Regions from separate parts of the Homo sapiens genome. Here region 1 is linked to region 2. The links are contacts of gene promoters, found by promoter capture Hi-C in human tissues and cell types (Jung and others, 2019). All regions are on one chromosome and are shown on one strand. The core of a region is centred on a gene start or on the middle of the fragment in contact, and the rest is flanking DNA. Distances in the headings are between cores, read along the strand shown.

Evidence for each region. The method cuts DNA at HindIII sites, captures the fragments that hold promoters and counts their contacts. A contact is called where the count stands out against the background at its distance.
Region 1: a contact is called between a fragment that was not itself captured here and the fragment with the promoter of PRR19 in region 2, in 1 of the 25 tissues and cell types used here (pancreas).

What each region holds. Positions count from the first base shown.
Region 1 is chr19:42,445,336-42,450,616 of GRCh38, reverse strand. The region is part of intron 1 of LIPE-AS1 (LIPE antisense RNA 1); the gene reads right to left. Among named protein-coding and RNA genes, the nearest start is that of CXCL17, 5.0 kb to the right of the region's middle. The HindIII fragment of the contact is 4,999 bases long and covers 658-5,281 here.
Region 2 is chr19:42,300,882-42,306,293 of GRCh38, reverse strand. It overlaps PRR19 (proline rich 19), which reads right to left and starts at 4,162. Exons shown (of 3, transcript NM_199285.3): 1 at 3,791-4,162. It overlaps PAFAH1B3 (platelet activating factor acetylhydrolase 1b catalytic subunit 3), which reads left to right and starts at 3,670. Exons shown (of 5, transcript NM_002573.4): 1 at 3,670-4,062; 2 at 4,255-4,344. The coding sequence starts at 3,985. RefSeq lists a silencer at 3,556-3,775 and enhancers at 3,329-3,983, 3,936-4,065, 4,146-4,195. The HindIII fragment of the contact is 37,239 bases long and covers 1-5,412 here.

The DNA of each region.
Region 1 (5,281 bases), core at 1,908-4,407, 150 kb before region 2:
ATGCACTTAAACCTTGTCACCAGTAAAGGAAGTGGGAGGGCTGGCAAGAGCAAAGGGTAGGAGGTAAAGTCCAGGTCACAAAGGAGATAAAATCACAATCGCCCACAAAGACAGGAAGTAACTGTCAGAGAGCTCAGCCTGCATCATAGGGCCGTGTCTCATTGCAAAAGACAGTTTGTATAATACCTAATATGTGGTATCAGTGGGAAACCTAGTTTCAAGCCAAGCTCTGCCCTTGTAACCTTAGAAATCACTCTAACAGGTATTTTCAGACACCCAGCTCAGGCCTGAACTCCACCAGTAAACTTGTAATTTCCCAAGGAAACTTACTTTACTGTGACAGTTCTTTTCCATCCTGAGCCAAAATGTGTCTGATACACACTCACCAATTCTCATCCTACTCTCTGTAGGCTGAAATAAGTCAAACTTCATACCCCTTACCGCCCTCAATCTTCAGGAAAGGTAGAACGGACTAATGGTCTTTTAAAGACATACCTCACCAAGCTCAGTCTCCAACTTAAAAAGGACTGGACAGTACTTTTACCTCTTGCCCTTCTCAGAATTAGAGCCTGTCCTCGAGATGCTACAGGGTACAGTCCATTTGAACTTTTACATGGACACACTTTCTTGCTCGGCCCCAACCTTGTCCCAGACACCGGCCCTCTAGGCAACTATCTTCCAGGCCTCCAGCAGGCTAGACAGGAAATTCCCCAGGCTGCTAATCTTCTCTTGCCTACTCCAGATTCCCAGCCATATGAAGACACCCTAGCTGGACAACCCGTTCTTGTTAAGAATCTGACCCCTCAAACTCTACAACCTCAATGGACTGGACCCTACTTAGTCATCTCTAGCACCCCAACTGCTGTCCGCCTGCAGGATCCTCCCCATTGGGTTCACCATTCCAGAATAAAGCTGTGTCCATCAAACAGCCAGCCTAATCTCTCCTCTTCCTCCTGGAAGTCGCAAGTACTCTCCCCTACTTCCCTTAAACTCACTTGTATTTCTGAAGAACAGTAATAACCCTCATGAGCCTAATACGTCCCTTCATTCTACTAGGTCTGTTCATCCTTACCCTACTTTTTGCAACAGGGCTTTATGCAGTCACCCCCACTACTTGGACTGCACCCCAAAAAACTTGTCATCCCTACTATCTTCTGTCTAGTCATACTCTTATTCACCGTTCTCAACTACTCATAAATGCCCTGCTCTTGTTTACACTGCCAGTTTACACTGTTCCTCCAAACCATCACAGTGGATATCTCCTGGTGCTATCCCCAAACTGCCACTCTTAACTCCCTCTTAGAGTGGATAGATGATCTTTGCTGGCAGGGCACCCTCCAATACTTCCACCCTGATGAAGTTCTATTCTTTACTTTTATACTCACTCTTATTCTCATTCCCATTCTTATGCCACCCTCTACCTCTCCCCAGCTATCTCCACCACACTATCAGTCTCATTCACTCTCTCCTAGCCGTCTCTGATCCCTCCTTAGAGAACAATTGCTGGCTTTGCATTTCCCTTTCTTCCTGTGCCTACACAGCTGTCCCCGCCTTACATACAGACTAAGCAACATCTCCTGTCTCCCTACACCTCCGAACTTCCTTTAACAGCCCTCACCTTAACCCTCCTAAAGAAATTCTTTACTTTCTAGACAGGTCCAGCAAGACCTCCCCAGACATTTCACATCAGCAAGCTGCCGCCCTTCTCCGCACTTACTTAAAAAATCTTTCTCCTTATATTAATTCTACTCCCCCCATATTTGGACCCCTCACAACACAAACTACTATTCCTGTGGCCACTCCTTTATGTATCTCTTGGCAAAGACCCACTGGAATTCCCCTAGGTAACCTTTCACCTTCTCCGTGTTCCTTCACTCTTCATCTCCAAAGCCCAACTACACATATCACTGAAACAATTGGGGCCTCCCAGCTCCATATTACAGAAAAGCCCTCTATCAATACTGGCAAACTTAAAAACATTAGCAGTTATTATTTCCTAGGAAGACACTTACCCTGTATTTCACTCCATCCTTGACTACCTTCCCCTTGCTCGTCAGACTCTCCTCCCAGGCCCTCTTTTTGTTTGCTTATACCCAGCCCTGTAAATAACAGTGAAAGGTTGCTCGTAGACACTCAACGTTTTCTCATACACCATGAAAATCGAACCTCCCCCTCTATGCAGTTACCCCATCAGTCCCCATTACAACCTCTGATGGCTGCCGCCCTAGCTGGATCCCTAGGAGTCTGAGTGCAAGACACCTCTTTTAGTATTCCTTCTCATCTTTTTACTTTGCATTTCCAGTTTTGCCTTGCACAAGGTCTCTTCTTCCTCTGTGGATCCTCTGCCTACATGTGTCTACCTGCTAATTGGACAGGCACATGCACACTAGTTTACCTTACTCCCAAAATTCAATTTGCGAATGGGACTGAAAAGCTTCCTGTTCCTCTCATGACACCGACATGACAAAAAAAAAGGTTATTCCACTAATTCCCTTACTTGTCGGTTTAGGACTTTCTGCCTCCGCTATTGCGCTCAGAACTGGAATAGCAGGCATTTCAGCCTCTGTCACGACCTTCCAGAGCCTCTCTAATGACTTCTCTGCTAGCATCACAGACATATCACAAACTCTATGAGTCCTTCAGGCCAAGGTTGACTCTTTAGCTGCAGTTGTCCTCTAAAACCGCCGAGGCCTTGACTTACTCACTGCTGAAAAAGGAGGACTCTCTATATTTTTAAATGAAGAGTGTTGCTTTTACCTAAATCAATCTGGCCTAGTATATGACAATATAAAAAAAAACTCAAGGATATAGCCCAAAAACTCGCCAACAAGCAAGTAATTATGCTGAACCCCCTTGGGCACTCTCTAATTGGACATCCTGGGTCCTCCCAATTCTTAGTCCTCTGGTACCTCTTTTTCTCCTCTTATTCGGGCCTTGTGTCTTCCGTTTGGTTTCTCAATTCACACAAAACCACATTCAGACCATCACTAATCATTCTATATGACAAATGCTACTTTTAACAACCCCATAGTACCATCCTCTGCCCCAAGATCTCCCCACAGCCTAAACTCCTATTCCATGTAACCTATTATAAAATTTTCTTTAAGGTCCACACAGCCCTTAATCCTGCTCGAAGCAGCCCTGAGAAACATGGCCCATTATCTCTCCATACCACCCCAAAAACAATTTTTTCGCCACCCCAACACTTCAACACTATTTTGTTTTATTTTTCTTATTAATATAAGAAGACAGGAATGTCAGGCCTCTGAACCCAAGCCTGCATGTATACATCCAGATGGCCTGAGGCAACCGACAAGTACAAAAGAAGGGAAACAGCCAACTCCTATCTTAACCGATTGACCAACCTTATGACATTCTGTCATGACTTGATCCTGCCCTGTCCCAATTGATCTACTGATCAACCTCGTGACATTCTTCTTCTGGACAATGAGTCTTATGATCTCCCCACCATGCCCGCAAGAGAAAAACCCCCTTTAACTGTAACTTTCCACTGCTTACCCTAGTCCTATAAAACTGCCCCATCCCTAACTCCCTTCACTGACTCTCTTTTTGGACTCAGCCTGCCTGCACCAGGTGATTAAAAGCTTTATTGCTCACACAAAGCCTGTTTGGTGGTCTCTTCACATGGATGCATGTGACACTAACATTTTTTCTTTTCCTTTTTTTTTTTTTTTTTTTTGAGATGGAGTCTGGCTCTGTCACCCAGGATGGAGTGCAGTGGCACAATCTTGGCTCACTGCAACCTCCCCCTCCTGGGTTCAAGCAATTTTCCTGCCTCAGCCTCCTGAATAGCTGCGATTACAGGTGCCCGCCACTGCGCCCGGCTAATTTTTGTATTTTTAGTAGAGACAGGGTTTTGCCATGTTGGCCAGGTTGGTCTCAAACTCCCGACCTCAGGTGATCTGCCTGCCTCAGCCTCCCAAAGTGTTGAGATTACAGGCATGAGCCAATGCACCCAGCCAAGTCTAACACTTTTTTATACAACCGACCTTCAAATATTGGTAAACATCCTTGGCCGGGCACAGTGGCTCATGCCTGTAATCCCAGCACTTTGGGAGGCCAAGGTGGGTGGATCACCTGAGGTCAGGAGATCGAGATCAGCCTGACCAACATGGAGAAATCCTGTCTCTACTAAAAATACAAAAAAAAATAGCCAGGCATGGTGGCGCATGCCTGTAATCATAGCTACTTGGGAGGCTGAGGCAAGGAGAATTGCTTGAACCTGGGAAGCAGAGGTTGCGGTGAGCCAAGATTGTACCATTGCACTCCAGCCTGGGCAATAAGAACAAAACTTCGTCTCAAAAATAAAAATAAAAAAATAAAAAAACAACCTCTATGTGCCACCTACCCCATCTTCCCTCGGCCGTTTCCCACGTAGGGTCACCTGAAGCCCCACACCCACTGCTCACTTTCCCACGGGCAAGTGAAGTGCAGCAACCACAGCCTACACTCTGAATCCTAGGGGTGTTCCCCAGAGCAGCAGAGCCACAGGAACCCCATCCCCGTCCTGGCACCTCACCCCTATCTAGAAGCTGAACGCTGTATCAGCTGATCTGGGGGGACTGATTTTTCCTGCTCCTGCTGCTGCTTAGTCATCCCACACCTGTGCAGATGTCTACTTTTTATTCAGTTTTATTTTGTAAGAAATATTTATCGGATCCTGCTGTGTACTGTCACTGGAGAGACAAAGGTGAATCACACCTGGTCCCTGCCTCACAGAGCTCCAGGCTATGGATGAAACCCACTCAAAGTCAGACCATTACCATTCAGTGAGAAACACCGTGACAGACATCAGAAAAGGGTTTTCTTTTTAAAACAAGAAACAAAAAAGCTTTTTATAGAGACAGGGTCTCACCATGTTGCCCACACTGGTCTCAAACTCCTGGACCCAAGCCATCCTCCCACCTCAGCTTCCCAAAGTGCTGGGATTACAGGCACCCATCCAACACAGGCTTTTTGACGCATCTCACTAATCCCCTGTGAAAAATCTTCCACTCTTGGTTTCCTGGGGTCAGTTTTCTTCATTTCAAGCTCAAAGTGAAAAAGAGAATACAAATATCCCTGATGGTCCTTTGTGCGGTCACAGCTGGACCCGGTATGTCCTCCCGGTTAATCCAGGGTGCTCAGGGCTCCCATTTCACTCTGAACGTCCTCTCTCCTATCGGAGCTCACCACGTCTACACCTGCAGCAGCCAGGTAGCTGCACACTAATAGAAAATCCAGCAAGTCAGAAAACTTGATTTACTCCTGTAACTTTGAG
Region 2 (5,412 bases), core at 2,913-5,412:
GCTGAGGCAGGAGAATGGCGTGAACCCGGGAGGCGGAGCTTGCAGTGAGCCGAGATGCATTTCAGCCTGGGCGACAGAGCGAGACTCCGTCTCTAAATAAATAAATAAGCTGGGCGCAGTGGCTCTTGCCTGTGGGCCCAGCTACTTGGGAGGCTGATGCAGGAGGATCACTTAAGCCTAGGAGGTGGAGGCAGCAGTGAGCCATGATCACGCCCGCCTGAGGGAGACGGCAAGACCCTGTAAAAGAACAAAAATTAGGCCACATGCATTGGCTCACGACTGTATATTCAGCGACTCAGCAGGCTGGGGCAGGAGAATTGCTTGAACCTGGGAAGTGGAGGATGCAGTGAGCCGAGATCACACCACTGCATTCCAGCCTGGGTGACAGAGAAAGACTCCATCTCAAAAAAAAGTTAGTGTAGTGTTGTGATTCATAGCTAGGCTTGGTTTAAATGCCCAAAATGGCACAACTGGGCTGTGTGACCTTGGAAATGTTTGTAACTGGTCAGACTTAGTTTTCTGACCTGTAAAATTGGGTTGGTAATAAAACTACCTTCCTCATTTGGTTGCTAGAAGGATAAACTAGACCAATATGTCTAACTTGAAATGGGCCTGGTGAATGAAGAATGCCTGGAAGCTTTGTTTCTCACTAAGCTTTGCTTCAGGAACTGCTCCAACTTATCCTCTAAGACTTTATTTTTAAAAATTTTTTTCTCGGTTGGGTATGGTGGCTCACGCCTGTAATCCCAGCACTTTGGGAGGCCAAGGCAGGTAGATCACGAGGTCAGGAGATCGAGACCATCCTGGCTAACACAGTGAAACCTCTTCTCTATTAAAAATACAAAAAATTAGCCGGGCGTGGTGGCACACGCCTGTAGTCCCAGCTACTCAGGAGGCTGAGGCAGGAGAATCGCTTGAACCTGGGAGGCAGAGGTTGCAGTGAGCCGAGATCGCGCCATTGCAGTCCAGCCTAGGCGACAGAGCGAGACTCTATCAAAAAAAAAAAAAATTCTCTCTTATATCACTGACTTGAAGGCATAATTAAGACTTTTTTCTTTTCTTTTCTTTTCTTTCCTTTTCTTTTTGAGATGGAATTTAAATCTGTCACTGAGGCTGGAGTGCAGTGGCACAGTCTGAACTCACTGCAACCTCCACCTCCCGGGTTCAAGCGATTCTCCTGCCTCAGCCTCCCAGGTAGCTGGGACTACAGGCGCAGACCACCTTGCCCAGCTAATCTTTGTATTTTTTAATAGAGATGGGGTTTTGCTATGTTGGTCAGACTGGTCTTGAACTCCTGACGCCAAGTGATCTGCCCACCTCAGCCTCCCAAAGTGCTGGGATTATAGGAGTGAGCCACCGTGCCTAGCTGATTATGACTTCTTTTTTGGAGACAGGGACTCACTCTGTCACCCAACCTGGAGTGCAGTGACACCATCATGGGCCACTGCCACCTCATCTCCCAGGCTCAAGCTATCCTCCTGCCTCAGCCTCCCAACTAACTGGGACTACAGGCACTTGCCCTTTTTTTTTTTTTTTTTTTTTTTGAGACGGCGTCTCGCTCTGTCTCCCAGGCTGAAGTGCACTGGTGCCATCTCGGCTCACTGCAAGCTCTGCCTCCCAGGTTCACGCTATTCTCCTGCCTCAGCCTCCCAAGTAGCTGGGACAACAGGCGCCTGCCACCACGCCCCGCTAATTTTTTGTATTTTTAGTAGAGACGGGGTTTCACCGTGTTAGCCAGGATGGTCTCGATCCTGACCTCGTGATCTGCCCACCTCGGCCTCCCAAAGTGCTGGGATTACAGGCGTGAGCCACCGCGCCCAGCCTTTTTTTTTTTTTTTTTTTAGACAGGGTCTCACTGTGTTACCCAGGCTGGTCTCAAACTTCTGGGTTCAAGCGATCCTCGCACCTCAGCCTCCCCAGTAGCTGGGACTACAGGCATGCATCACTGCACCTGGCTCCCTCAGACTTTATTTGTTTGTTTATTTTTGTAATTAAGACAGAGTCTCGCTGTGTCACCCAAGCTGGGCCACTGTTGCCCAGGCTGGGCTGCAGTGGCGCGATCTCAGCTCACTGCAACCTCTGCCTCCCAGACTCAAGCAATTGTCCTGCCTCAGCCTTCCCAAGTAGCTGGGACTACGGGCGTGTGCTGCCATGCCTAGCTAATTTTTTTTTTTTTTTTGTATATTTAGTAGACACGTGGTTTCGCCATGTTGGCCAGGCTGGTTGACCTCAAGTGATCCGACCATGTCAGCCTCCCAAAGTGCTGGGATTACAGGCATGAGCCTCCATGCTGGCCTCCCTCAGACTTTAAAATCAAGCTATTCCACGATATTCCCCAAACCTAATAAGAAAGTGATTACCTGTGTCTTTTCTTTCTGCTTGCCCATTCTTCATTATCTTTCAGACCCAGCTGAGATACTACTCCTAGGAAACCCATAGTCCTCAGAGTCCTTCTCCTCTTCCTCCCCAGAGGTCCCTGTCTCTCCCTCAAACACAACTTTGACACCCCTACACCTCTGTGTCTGGATCTGTCTCCCTAAACACATTGGGACAAGGTCAGGAGCTGACCCACTCATTTACTACTCATTCAGCAAGCACTTGTGGAATAACCACTGTGTGCCCGGCCCAGTTCCAGGAAAGTGGATTGAAAACATAAACACAATGAATAACACTCATCTCTGTCTCAGTATCAATCCACCTCGAAGGAATGAATACATGGGAAGGTCCCACCTGGAGTGAGGCTACAAGAACATGACCAGGACGTTTAGCAGGGAGTGAGCCCCCCACCTGGTCCCAGAGAAGAGGGAGATCTGAGAAGACACTGAGGTCTGAGATTAATTTGGGGCAGCGTTGGGGGAGAGGCGCGACCCTAGGTGGCCTTGGCTATGGATGTAGGTTTCAGAGCTCAGACATACCCAGTTGGCCTGTGGGTTTAGAGAGAGTGTAGAGGCTGCAGATCTGCAAGATGATCTGCCGGAGGGACGCCAGACTGGACCTGAGCCCTGGAGGCGTCTCTAATTTCCTTTCTCTTTCTGCACCTTCTTCTACCCTCCAAGCAGGTCCTATGGTGTCTTGAATGCAAAGATATGTAGTTTATATGTTATGCCACGCGCGCGCACACACACACGGTGTTTTGAGTAGGGGTCCTGTGATGTCTTGAATGCAAAGATATGTACTTTAGATTTCAACACACACACACACACACACACACACACACACACACACACACCCACGGTGTTTTGAGTAGGGGAAGCCCACGAGTAGATAGGCTCACTAAAGCCCTGGCGCGGCCTTAGAGTGGCTCCTTAGAAGGGAGCCTCGAATTTTCACATTTTGTCATCTTCCTTTTCTGTCCCCCACATCAGTAGAAAATAGGAGCGTCCCCCCCAGCCAGGTGCATTCGAGCCACCCCTTCAAGGGAATATAAGAATGGACTCGTCCACTCGCTCCCCTCCCCCCACCACGTGAATGGGTCACCCCCCCCCCCGCAACAGTAGGTGGTCCCTTCCGCACATTTCACTCTGTACAGCAAATGGTTTCTTCCCATTTGCTAGACAGAGGGCTAGATTTTCCCCGCCCACTCTCGACTCTTCAGGTAGTTCGCCCCTCCCCGTGACCGGTGGGTGGTTTCTCCCTCCTCCCCGCCTCGGGAGCTGGATGGTCTCGCCTCTCCCTCCCCCCACCCCGTGCCGGGTGCGCGGCCTGGGAGTCAGCGGCCCGAGCGGGAAGCGCCGGGCGAGCCCACTGTGCGGCCGTCGTGGGGGAAGCGAAGGTTCCTGATTCCACCTACCTCCTAAGTGAAGGCTTCCGTCCCTGGAGAGGAGGCGGCGCCCTGTATCGGCCTTCGTCCTCCGCGGGTGTGCTAGCGTTGGGACGGTCCTTTGTTGCCGCGAGGGGTAGGAGTGGGCGTGGCGGAGCCAGCTCCGTTCGGAACACTCCCGGGCCGACCCGACTCGCTCATCCTGCAGGAGCTGCGGCGCCAAGATGAGTGGAGAGGAGAACCCAGCCAGCAAGCCCACGCCGGTGCAGGACGTACAGGGCGACGGGCGCTGGATGTCCCTGGTGAGCGTTCCCACCTGGGATATTGAGGAGTCCGGGGGCGCGGGGGGTGGCTCAGGAGAACGGCTGGTTCGTGCCACTCTCACTACCTGATTGGGAAACTGAGGGCAGTTGAGGAGGCGCTGCCTAAGGGAGCAGGGCGGGGCGGGCCCTGGAGCGTGCATGCCATTGACTCCCTCTCGCGCGCTCCCGCAGCACCATCGGTTCGTGGCTGACAGCAAAGATAAGGAACCCGAAGTCGTCTTCATCGGGGACTCCTTGGTCCAGCTCATGCACCAGTGCGAGGTGAGGGCAGTCCCTCTCCCCCTGCCCCATCCAGCCCTGTGTCCATGCTGACACATCTGGACCAGAACCCAGGCCAGGTGAGGTATTATGAGAGTACCCAGATTGGCCTCAGGCAGCCCGAGGCTCTGAGAATCTTGGTGTAAGGTGCAACATTCTATTGAGAAAGAAATGTATGCCTTGGTTTTATCAGATTGGATTTGTGTATAATGTACTAAGACCTAAAATGAGGCTTTCCTGCCATAGGCTTGCCTAAAGTGAGGCTCTTTCTTGTTTGCTTTAAGTAGTGCGCAGCCCTGTTGGGTTTACACAAAGCTATAGTCACTTTACAGGAAGCGAAGGGCAACTCTAATGGCACTCCACAAAGAGGACTCAATCATAATAATATCTTTCCACAAAGCATGTCCAACTGTAATGGGTTTCATCAAAATAAGTTTCAACTGTAATGCCATTGATTCAATGCATGGCTCAAGCAGACTGGATTTTCATGAAGTGAGTCTTGCTTCTATGGGGCTTGGTTTGTTTTGTTGGTTGGTTGGTTGGTTGGTTGGTTTTTGAGACAGGGTCTTGCTCTGTCACCCAGGCTGGCGTGCAGTGGTATGATCTCTGTTCACTGCAACCTCTGCCTCCTGGGCTCAAGTGATCCTCCCACCTTAGTCTCCGAGTAGCTGGGACTACAGGTGCACATCACCATGCACCTGGCTAATTTTTGTAATTTTTGTAGAGATGGGGTTTTGCCCTGTTGCGCAGGTTGGTCTTGAACTCCTGGGCTCAAGCAGTCCGCCCACCTCAGCATGAGCAACAGAGCCTGGGGCTTGGTTTAAAGTGAGAGACTCTAGGCAGGGTGTGGTGGCTTACGCCTGTAATCCCAGCACTTTGGGAGGCCAAGGCAGGCGGATGACCTGAGGCCAGGAGTTCGAGACCACCCTGGCCAACATGGCGAAATCCTGTCTCTACTAAAAATACAAAAATTAGCTGGGCATGGTGGCACATGCCTATAGTCCCAGCTACTTGGCAGGCTGAGGCAGGAGAATCGCCAGAACCTGGGAAGCAGAGATTGCAATGAGCCGA